4 separate regions of the Homo sapiens genome follow, and regions 1, 3 and 4 are each linked to region 2. Evidence: promoter capture Hi-C in 16 types of primary human blood cells and fetal thymus (Javierre and others, 2016). All regions are on one chromosome and are shown on one strand. Each heading gives the region's core, a stretch centred on a gene start or on the middle of the fragment in contact. The rest is flanking DNA. Distances are from core to core; before and after follow the strand shown. Region 1 overlaps HK2 (hexokinase 2). Region 2 holds the start of PCGF1 (polycomb group ring finger 1). Region 3 holds the start of MOB1A (MOB kinase activator 1A). Region 4 overlaps SLC4A5 (solute carrier family 4 member 5).

Region 1 (2,700 bases), core at 139-2,638, 370 kb before region 2:
AGGACTGAGATGTGGAAGGGATTCCAAGGTTACCTTTCCGAGAGGAAACCCAGGCCTCCAGGAAGCAGCCTGCTCAAGACCCAAGGCCGAGTACAGCAGCATCAGGGCTAACTGAGAGCTGGCAAAATTGTGAAGATGACAGCGCGCATTTTAAATGTTAGTGCACCCACACAGGCAGAGCTTCAGGAGAAGGAAACCAGCGTGGATGGGAGCCTGGCTTCAACAGTAAGGAACTCCGTGTTGCTAAGTTTTTATTCTAGTTTTTAAAAACACTTTGTTCCAGTCAACATTTGGAAGATACTTACTTGGAAATATATTAGAGGGGACAAAAATTGTCTGTAGTGACTTCAGGGCTACCATGGATGACAATTTGGTGGGTGTCAAAGGATAAGCCGGGGGTGTGCTGTCATGGTCTGGCTGGCAAATTTGTCTTTTGACATTTGAAAGGGCCTTTAGTTCCTCGGAATGACTTGGGTGTGCCTCATTCATGGAGGCAGGCACTGAGTGACTTTTCAGCTCATAAACCTCTCATCAGCCATGGCAGACACAACCAGTATGATCCTCAGAAATTTCAAGTAAAGGACTCATTTCAACATGTGAAACAAGCTTGTGACTTAGATAAATAAACCATGCTTTGACAAAGCAAGGACTCTCAGGCCGGGCGCGGTGGCTCACGCCTGTAATCCCAGCACTTTGGGAGGCCGAGGAGGGCGGACCGCCTGAGGTCGGGAGTTCGAGACCAGTCTGGCCAGCATGGTGAAACCCTGTCTCTAATAAAAATACAAAAATTAGCTGGGCGTGGTGGCAGGCGCCTGTAATCCCAGCTACTCAGGAAGCTGAGGTAGGAGAATCGCTTGAACCCGGGAGGCAGAGATTGCGGTGAGCCAAGATTGCGCCATTGCACACCAGCCTGGGCAACAGAGAGAGACTCTGTCTCAAAAAAAAAAAAAAAAAAACGAAAGCAAGGACTCTCCTGGGTTACCCACCACTGACTTGATTTATAGGGTTCAATTTTCCTGTCCAAGTAGAGATCTGCACGAAAAGCTTTTCTACAACAGTCACAAGACCAGAGATGATCTGTATTGCTCAAAATATTTTGCAACTGCTTCAGACCTTGAAGCAATCCCTGTTTCAAGATCTTTCACACGCACATTTGGCAAATGTTTGTGAGGGTGAAATAAGGTTTTGTAAGAGATAAAAGCAACTAAAAACAAAGGCAGGCCAGGCTGGAGAATACAATATTCAGGATCCAAAATGCTAGACGCCCCTCCTCCAATCCATCCCAGGACATAGTTGGGCCAAGGTCCAAGTGAAGGAGGCCAAGGAAGCTCCTCAGCCAATGTCTCCAGGGGCCATGGGTCTGCCTGCAGCTGCAGCAGGAGGCCCTGGGACCCCAGGGAGCAGCAATGAGCAGCCAGCTGTCAGCCTGTCCTCTGGGTGGTGATGGAGTTGGAGCTATGAAAGGAGCTTTCAGAGACCCCAATCTTGGCCACCTCAACACAACTTTCCTTAGGTGGCTCACAGTTCCCATGGACAATTTACAAATAGAAGGTGGAAAGAAAGAGCAGGGCCACCCACTTACACTCAGAATAGAACCTTCCAAAATGACTCCTGTGAAGGAAACACATTATTAGCTATAATCTGGTATATCCGCTTGCTCTCTGTTTTAGATCCTCTCAGCAATTTATAGTCACAGACATTCCTATGACCAGTGGCCACCTTGGCAAGCTTTGGGGATGTAAGACTGTAAAGAAACAACCCCCTGGCCCCGACCAGCCCCAGACTCAGCTCCAGGCCCCCGCCAAGCCCACTCGCACAGGAAGGGCCTACTCACAGTTGCTTTCCCGGGTTCAGTGAGCCCATGTCAATCTCCTGGTCAAACTCAGTGCGAATGTCGTTGAGCGAGCCATCGTCCCCGAAGGCCCCCCACTCCATATTGATACACATCCGCCCCTCATCGCCTTCCACCATGTCGATGTGGCGCATCTCTTCCATGTAGCAGGCGTTGCTGCCCGTGCCTGCCAAAACAAGGGACGGCTATGCACACGCCTGCTCCGGCCCCTTCCCACCCCTCTTCCCTCTTATACTACTGTCCCGAGACTGCCCGGCCAGGATGGCTGGGATTTCTCACTGCAGACTCTGGGGGCATCACAATACATGGTCTAATCTTCTGCCACCCCCAACTCCATGAGTCCCTGCTCGGCTCTCCAAAGTGACTGGACCATTATCTTCTAATATGAACTACAAAGGAACACCCAGCCCATGGGCCCCTTCTCCCTTTCCAGCCCACACCCCCATCCCTTGGCCAGCACGGGCCCTTCATGCACGGTGTTCACTCACCCACAATGAGACCAATCTCACAGTTGTGGTCATCATAACCACAGGTCATCATGGTCCCAACTGTGTCATTCACCACAGCCACAATGTCGATATCAAAGTCCTGTGGAGACAAATGGGAGGGCTCTGACCTTCATCATCACAGAGGGCGACTTTCCTAACACCAGCTATATATCACTCCTCCTCCTCCTCCTCCTCCTTCTCTCTCTCTCCCCCCTCCCTCCCCATAACTCCTCCTGTGATAAGACTTTTAATTCATTCTCTCTCTGAGCCATTCCACTCCCATGTCAACATCATTCCAACTTTCTTACTTGGAAATCACATTCAAGTCTTCTTCAGGTTAAGAACTAAAGAGCTTTTCTT
Region 2 (2,700 bases), core at 179-2,678:
ATACCATCATCACCATAAAAATAATAAACATATCCACATCTCAAAAATTGTCCTTTGTCCTTTGTGTTTCATGTTTTATCAGAATCACTAGCTCTGAGAAACAGCACTCAACTGTGATGTTGAGAACAGGCGAAGGGGGACTCAAGGAAAACAGTCAAGAGGCCACTACAGAGGACAGATGATAGTGGCTCGGACCAGGGAAGTAGGTAAACAGGGGCTGTAACGAATAATTGATTAATCACTAATCTCATAACTTCTTGCTGCATATTCACTTCAATTCACTCTGAAGAGAAATGAACAAAAATGTCGCTTTCACAGGATAACCTCCCTTCAAAAAAGTCCGCTAGCTCCCAATTGCCCTCAGGCTAAAAATCGCAACTCTTTATGGCCCTGCTTTTTCTATTACCACTCTCAAATCTACATCTTGACCTTCCTGTCCTCTGGTCATTCCCCTCCACGTCCTTTCTATTTCACCACACTTCCACCCCCTCCCCCAAGTCTAAATTGTGCCCAAAGTCCCACTTTCTCCAGAAAGCCTTTTTTGAGGTCTCCATTGGAATCTCTCCCTTCTCGTATCTCCAGTTGCATTTGATGTTAATACCTCATAGCAAATTTATCCCTTTTTAAGTACCCAGAGCCGGCGGTGTAGAGCTCTCGAGCGAGCACCCCGCGTAGTCCCCAAGTGCGGGACTGGGCCTATGCTACTACAGGCGCTCGCTGCCTAAGCCTGTCTGTGTGTGGCAGTGTCCTAGTCGTCCTCCCCTCCTCCTTCGGCATCTGCTCTGCATTAGTCTGTCCCAGGCCTCCGCAGGCGCCGATGATTAAATCATCATCATTAACCAGGGCCTGCCCCCCCCATCCCCGGCAGCAGGGGGGAGAATGGGGGAATAAGATCACTACCAAGTCCCTGGGGGTCTCTCACTCCCCATCCCCCGGCACCCTCTCCGAGACTCTGCAAAGCCCAAGAAACTCCCTCCGTGAAGCCGGGAGAAGACCCGCCATCTGGACGAAGCTCCGCTACGCGGACGCCGACAGGGCGGCATTACGAGGAGAGGACCCAGGAGGGGCTTCTTCAGCAGGGTCGTCGTCACAGAAGACCGACGACCCTGAGCGGGTAGCGGGCACAGACTGCCAGGCCTTTGGGGGTAGGAGGGGGCAGTCTTTCGCAGGCTCCGAAAGTTAGTCTTGAGGTCGCGTAGGGCCTATTATGATGATTTCTACAGGAGGTTGAAGAGATAAGACCCTTCCCTGTGCTCCCCCCCCCCCACTCCTTAATTACGGATTGAGCAGGGGAGGGGCCGGTGGGGCTCAGGTGAGCACACAGGGAGAAAGGGACGTGGGCGGGGCCTTACAGAGGGTGAGCGAATCCGAAAAGACCTAGAACCTCGTTGCTGGGAGACAAGTCCCGCCCTGCAGGCGGCACCGGAAGTGGCCGGCTGGGATCAGCCTTTAAGATGGCGTCTCCTCAGGGGGGCCAGATTGCGATCGCGATGAGGCTTCGGAACCAGCTCCAGTCAGTGTACAAGATGGACCCGCTACGGAACGAGGTGCAAGGGCGGCAGGGTTACTGCTGTGGTCGGCCAGCGGTGCGAATTGGGGCGGGCTAAAGGACGGGCGGTGGCTGGCCGGGCGCCCAGTGCGCCTGCGCAGAGACAGAGTGCCCAGTGCGCCTGCGTGGTTGCGATCGGGTTGCCAAACTCCGGTTAGGACGCCTGCGCGTTGTGTCGCCGACGTTGTGTAGTCTCCCCTGGGAAAGGAGGGTCAGGCGAGTCCACGTGAGGGAAGCCCCCGCTGTGCGCGGAGCCCTCTGCTGGGCGGAGGGGGAGTGCCAGCCCCCAGGAGCTAATCCCCGGCTGATGGCGCAGGGCGCGGGGCTTGGCCGTCTAGTGTGATGAAGGAGGCGACCCCCAAGGTGGGAAGGCGCACGGGTTGGGGTTTGAGGGTGGATGATTGGTGACGGAGGGTGTATCTTCAGGAGGAGGTTCGAGTGAAGATCAAAGACTTGAATGAACACATTGTTTGCTGCCTATGCGCCGGCTACTTCGTGGATGCCACCACCATCACAGAGTGTCTTCATACTTGTGAGTGCCTTGGAGACTGCCTAGTTCTTCCAGTCCCTAGTCTTCACCAAGCTGACTGCCAGCTTCTGTGCGGCCTGCCTCACGCATCCAGGCACCCCACCCAGCCCATGAATCCAGTTTCCAGAGGGCCTGAGAATCTGCTTTTCTTTTCCTGCAGTCTGCAAGAGTTGTATTGTGAAGTACCTCCAAACTAGCAAGTACTGCCCCATGTGCAACATTAAGATCCACGAGACACAGCCACTGCTCAACCTCAAACTGGACCGGGTCATGCAGGACATCGTGTATAAGCTGGTGCCTGGCTTGCAAGACAGTGAGTCACCAACCTGACTTTGAGGGGCCTCTTGAGGACTAATTGCTGAGTGGCAGCTTGAGGTGACGGGTTTGGTAGGACTCACGTAGGCAGAAGGCCAAAGATGAGGGAAGGACAAAAAGTGAGGAAGGGCTAATACTTTATTCTTTTTTTTCTTTTTTTGAGACGGAGTCTTGCCCAGGCTGGAGTGCAGTGGCGCAATCTCAGCTCACTGCAAGCTCCACCTCCTGGATTCATGCCATTCTCCTGCCTCAGCCTCCTGAGTAGCTGGGACTACAGGCGCCCACCACCATGCCCAGCTAATTTTTT
Region 3 (2,700 bases), core at 194-2,693, 330 kb after region 2:
ACTGGCACACACCATTACGCCTGGCTAATTTTTGTGTTTTTGTAGAGGCGGGGTTTCACCATGTTGCCCAGGCTGGTCTCGAACTCCTGAGCTCAAGTGATCCGCCAGCCTCAGACTCCCAAAGTGCTGGGATTACAGGCGTAAGCCACAACTGTGCCTGGCCAGTAATGAAGCTTTGATACATGCTACAATATGGGTGCGTTTTAAAACATTATGCTAAGTGAAAGAAGTCAGTCACAAAAGACCACATAATGTATGCTTCCATTCACAGTGTATATGAAATGTCCAGATTAGGTAAATCCATGGAAATAGAAAGTAGAGTAGTGGTTGCCAGGGGTTGGGAGGAGGGAGGTGGGTAATAAAGAGTAACTGCTAATAGGTATGGGGTTTCTTTTCGGGGTGATGAAAATGGCCTAAAATTATGGTTAGGCTGGGCGCGGTGGCTCACGCCTGTAATCCCAGCTTTGGGAGGCCGAGGCGGGTGGACCACTTGAGGTCAGGAGTTCAAGACCGAGACCAGCCTGGCCAACATGGCGAAACCCCGTCTTTACTAAAAAAAAAAAAAAAAAAAAATACAAAAATTAGACGGGTGTGGTGGCGCACGACTGTGATCCCAGCTACTCGGGAGGCTGAGGCATGAGAATCACTTGAATCTGGAAGGCAGAGGTTGCAACGGGCCGAGATTGCACCACTGCATTCCAGCCTGGGTTACAAAGTGAGACTCTGTCAAAAAAAAAAAAAAAATTAGTGCTGATGGTTGGCACACTTTGAAAACATAAACAAAGCCGGAGGCAGTGGCTCACACCTGTGATCCCAGCATTTTGGGAGGTCAAACCAGGAGGATCCCTTGAGCTCAGGAGTCCAAGACCAGCTTGGGCAACACAGTGAGACGCTCGTCTCTGCAAAAACTTTGAGAAAATTAGCCGGGCGTGGTGGCAGGCACCTGTGGTCTCAGCTACTCGGGAGGCTGAGGCGAGAGGATCACTTAAGCCCAGGAAGTCCAGGCTGCAGTGAACTGTGAACTCCAGTCTGGGCGACAGAGCGAGACACCTCAGAAAAAAAAAAAAAAAAGAAAGAAAAAACCGAAAAAGACCACTAGAGGGTACATGTTTAAAGGACAGATTTTATGCTATGTGAATATATTTCAAGTAAAAATTAAATTAACAATTTTAAAAATTGCAGGAGTACGCAGCGCTTATAGAGGTCCCTGCATAACCTAGGGAGCGGGATCGAAACCCAGCAGCACCAAGATACTCTAAGAGCAGGACCAGCCACTGCCCCTTCCGCAGGACCGCCATCCTCGCCACGCCTCCGGGGGAGGGAGGTCCTGGCTTGGAGAGCGATGATTGGCCGAGTTCTAGGACGAGGCGGAGCGAAAGGGGGCGCGACAAGTCCCTCCCGGCGCAGCGAAACCTTAGCTCGCGAGATTTTGTTGGTTCCGCATTTCGGGTCTGCGAGGTGGGGTAGGCGGGCAAGGCGGGCGCCGAGGTTTGCAAAGGCTCGCAGCGGCCAGAAACCCGGCTCCGAGCGGCGGCGGCCCGGCTTCCGCTGCCCGTGAGCTAAGGACGGTCCGCTCCCTCTAGCCAGCTCCGAATCCTGATCCAGGCGGGGGCCAGGGGCCCCTCGCCTCCCCTCTGAGGACCGAAGATGAGCTTCCTCTTGTGAGTGGGGTCGGGCCGCGGGCGCCGGGCCTGCGGGCCGAGGTTGTGGGGGAGGCCTCCCCGGACCTGAGGCGAGGGCTCGGCCTGGGGGCCGAGGCGGGGGCGGGGTAGCTGGCGTTTGTTTTGCCTCTGTTCGGGTCCGCGGGGGAGGCCGAGATGTTGGGAGAGGCCGACAGAGATGAAGGTCGAAGTAAAGGAAACGGAGCGTGAAGGCTGGGGAGTAGAAAGGCCCCGGGGCCGTCGCGCCTCCAAACTTTTCCGCCCGAGCGCCCCCGAGGGCGGGGAGACGATCTGGGGGCGGAGCCGCGAGCCCCCAGTTTCTCTTGTCTCGAGCTTCTAGAAACCGTCCTTGCCGACTTAACTCGTTGCTCGGTTATAGGTCCAGTTTCATTATTGTCGGTGTTAAATGCCGCCCCAGGAGAATGTGCGTTGCCGCAGTTTGAGAAGCTTGAAGTTAAGATGCTGGCCTTGGAGTCGGATCGTTCTGTCCAGTTCTGATTCTGCCCACTTACTGGCTTTGATTTTAACCAACTTCTCTTGTCCTCGGTAGAATCCTGTGTTTTTAATCATTATGTAATATACCATACAGCATTATTATATAGTACATTGCAGTATTATAAATAATTTGGAAAGTTAAAACAAATTCATAGTCCCATTGCAGAAACACAGTATTGCCATTTTAGTGCACTACAGCAATTAACTTGATAGGCATACCTTAGAATCTCATTTTAGAGATAATGCCTGAGCCCAACCAAACAAGGCTAAAATGAAAAAGCTTGTAAATTCCCTGATGATTCTTATGCACATTAAGGTTTGAGAAGCATTGCTCTGGCACAGTATTTTTTATTCTCAGGTGTCTCTCTCTACCTTGTATATTGCTTAAATGTGTGTTTTGTGATTGAATAATTATCCAATTTTAGTTATGGATGTAATCCACATGCTTGACATTTTTATTAAATACAATATAAAAACACTATATAGTTTTTTTTTTATTTTTTATAACCAGAGTTTACCCACTTTATTGTGAGAAACTGGGATT
Region 4 (2,700 bases), core at 115-2,614, 270 kb after region 2:
CTGCTGAGCAAGAAGGAGTGTCTGAGCTACGGCGGGCGCCTGCTTGGGAATTCCTGCAAGTTTATCCCAGACCTGGCGCTCATGTCCTTCATCCTTTTCTTTGGGACATACTCCATGACCCTGACCCTGAAGAAGTTCAAATTCAGCCGCTATTTTCCTACCAAGGTAAGCTCACCCTGCAGTTAGGAGGGGACCTGCAGTCAGACAGCTGCTGAGTCCCCCAGAGAGGGTTCTGGTCCACCGACAGGATGGACTCCATGCGAGCACTGGCCCACTGGGGTTTTTCAAGTTAAGTCAGAGAGAACTGTGTTCCCTTGTTGGCTGGTCCCCTTGACAACACTTGGTATTGTCAGGCTTTTATCTTTAGTCTTTGTCTATAGTAGTATCTCATTGTGTTTTTTAAATTTTTCATTTCCCTGATGACTAATGAAGTTGAAAATACAGCTATTCCTGTGTTTATTGGCCACATGCCCAATTGCCTTTCTTTTTGGAAGTGTCTGTTGAAATCTCTTGCACATTTTGGGTTGTCTGCCTTTCTGATTTGCAAGAGTTTGTTATATATTCTGGGTAGAAATGTTTTTGTGATTATATGTGTTGCAAAATCTTCTCCCACTCTGTGACTGTTTTTTTCTTTTTACATCCTTAATGGCATCTTTTGATTAACAGAAATTCTTAGTTTTATTGTAATTGAATATATCAAACTTTCCTCAAGGCAAATATTGGACAGCAGATATTCTTGTATGTTACCTTCTAAAAGCTTCATTGTTTTTCCTTTCATGTTAGATCTACAATCCATCAGAATTGATTCTGATGTGTACTGTGAGACAGTGTTTCTTTGTGATTTTATATAGTCAATTGTTCCAGTATTTTTTAAAGACTATTCTTTCTCCATTGCTTTGCAATACTTCCTTTGCCATATATCAAATATTCCTATATGACAGGGTCTGTTTCTGGGTTCTTTATTCTGTTTCACTAGTTTATTTATATATCAGTATCACAGTCTTCATTTCTGTAGCTTATAAGTCTTTATATCTTTGTCTCCCAAGCTCTCCCCTTTTGTCCTTTTTATATAATATTTTCTTGGCCCTTTGCATTTCCACATGAATTTTAGAATCATCTTAAATTTCACCAAAATGAAAACTTGTTGGAATTTTGATGGGATTATCTTTGCCTCTGTTTGGGAAGAATTAACGTCTTTCAAATTTTGAGTTTTTCTGATTTATGAATACAGTATACTTCATTTATTTTGGTCTTCTTTCTCTCCATAATGTTTTATACATTTTGATCTTTAAGTCTTGAACATTTTTTGTTAGAGTTATTCCTAGGTACTTGATTTTTTTATACCGTCGTAAATGCTAACTGCTATGTTATTATTATTTTATTATTATTATTATTTTTGAGACAGAGTCTCACTCTGTCACCCAGGTGGGAGTGAAATGGCATGATCTCGGCTCACTGCAACCTCCGCCTCCCGGGTTCAAGTGATTCTCCTGCCTCAGCCTCCCAAATAGCTGGGACTACAGGCGCCTGCCACCACACCCGGCTAATTTTTGTAATTTTAGTTGAGACGGGGTTTCACCATGCTGGCCAGGCTGGTCTTGAACTCCTTACCTCAGGTGATCCCCCCACCTCAGCCTCCCAAAGTGCTGGGATTACAGGTGTGAGCCACCGCACCCAGCCCTAACTGCTGTTTTAAATTTTATTTTCTACCTGTTTGTGGCTGGAATAAAAGATTTATGAAAACAGCACTTGCATACATAAGCAGTAACTGTGCCGTGGGGTGGGGGGTACTCGGAAGAATTTAAGCAACTCTTTCCCACCGTAAACTCCATTAGCAGTCTCCTAAAGCCATCTTAACTAAGTATTACAGCTGCTACTGCTACTAATCATAATGATAAAATCTTTGAAATAAATAGTTGAATTTTTCCCAGATTTTCTAAAGACTAAATAAAAGGTGCTTTAGGAAGCTTCACAGTATATAAACTGAGTAAAAAAATAGTTTGCTTACAACACAAATGCACCATCAAGACAAGTTCTCTTCCTTCCTGCCCACTTCCAGTCCAGAGCACATCCCTCAATCTCCTCTTATGTAAAAATTCTCAAGCAGTCACTGTATCTGAGAGTATCTATCTGTTGCCTACAGGATGAAAAGTAATTCATGTGGCATGAAATTCTTGTGCCAACAACATTTTTTCCGTCACATTACTTAAAAATTGCTCAGTTGGGCCAGGCACAGTGGCTCACGCCTGTAATCCCAGCACTTTGGGAGGCCCAGGCAGGCGGATCACGAAGGCAGGAGATCGAGACCATCCTGGCTAACATGGTGAATCCCCGTCTCTACTAAAAATACAAAAAATTGGCCGGGCGTTGTGGTGGGCGCCTGTAGTCCCAGCTACTTGGGAGGCTGAGGCAGGAGAATGGCATGAACCCGGGAGGCAGAGCTTGCCGTGAGCAAAGATTGCGCCACTGCACTCCAGCCTGGGCGACAGAGAGAGACTCTGTCTCAAAAAAAAAAAAAAAAATTGCTCAGTTGCCTTCTGGAATTTCCGGTTGCAGAGAGGAATGAGGCCACACCATTTTATACTCATCAGATTGGTAGACAGATGAAGGTCTTGGGACACCAGATGTTGGAGATGGAAAGCAGTAGGTGGGAATGTAGACAGATACATCCAATTTGGAGAGCAACTGACACTCTCTGAT

What was found. The method cuts DNA at HindIII sites, captures the fragments that hold promoters and counts their contacts. A CHiCAGO score of 5 or more calls a contact.
Region 1: a fragment that was not itself captured here is called in contact with the fragment with the promoter of PCGF1 in region 2 in 2 of 17 cell types (M0 macrophages and naive B cells); the score reaches 5.6 in M0 macrophages.
Region 3: the fragment with the promoter of MOB1A here is called in contact with the fragment with the promoter of PCGF1 in region 2 in 3 of 17 cell types (total CD8 T cells, activated CD4 T cells and fetal thymus); the score reaches 7.1 in total CD8 T cells.
Region 4: a fragment that was not itself captured here is called in contact with the fragment with the promoter of PCGF1 in region 2 in 1 of 17 cell types (activated CD4 T cells); the score reaches 6.5 in activated CD4 T cells.

Annotation. Positions count from the first base shown.
Region 1 is chr2:74,873,584-74,876,283 of GRCh38, reverse strand. It overlaps HK2 (hexokinase 2), which reads right to left. Exons shown (of 18, transcript NM_000189.5): 6 at 2,341-2,440; 7 at 1,835-2,018. Among named protein-coding and RNA genes, the nearest start is that of LINC01291, 34 kb to the left of the region's middle. The HindIII fragment of the contact is 684 bases long and covers 1,047-1,730 here.
Region 2 is chr2:74,506,423-74,509,122 of GRCh38, reverse strand. PCGF1 (polycomb group ring finger 1) reads left to right here and starts at 1,428. Exons shown (of 9, transcript NM_032673.3): 1 at 1,428-1,547; 2 at 1,976-2,081; 3 at 2,239-2,391. The coding sequence starts at 1,455. RefSeq lists enhancers at 619-678, 1,419-1,598, 1,235-2,165. The HindIII fragment of the contact is 5,812 bases long and covers 1-2,700 here.
Region 3 is chr2:74,177,622-74,180,321 of GRCh38, reverse strand. It overlaps MOB1A (MOB kinase activator 1A), which reads left to right and starts at 1,443. Exons shown (of 6, transcript NM_018221.5): 1 at 1,443-1,661. The coding sequence starts at 1,648. RefSeq lists a silencer at 1,682-1,871 and an enhancer at 1,735-2,418. The HindIII fragment of the contact is 1,935 bases long and covers 176-2,110 here.
Region 4 is chr2:74,236,800-74,239,499 of GRCh38, reverse strand. SLC4A5 (solute carrier family 4 member 5) reads left to right here. Exons shown (of 31, transcript NM_133478.3): 21 at 1-165. Among named protein-coding and RNA genes, the nearest start is that of MTHFD2, 40 kb to the right of the region's middle. The HindIII fragment of the contact is 1,210 bases long and covers 760-1,969 here.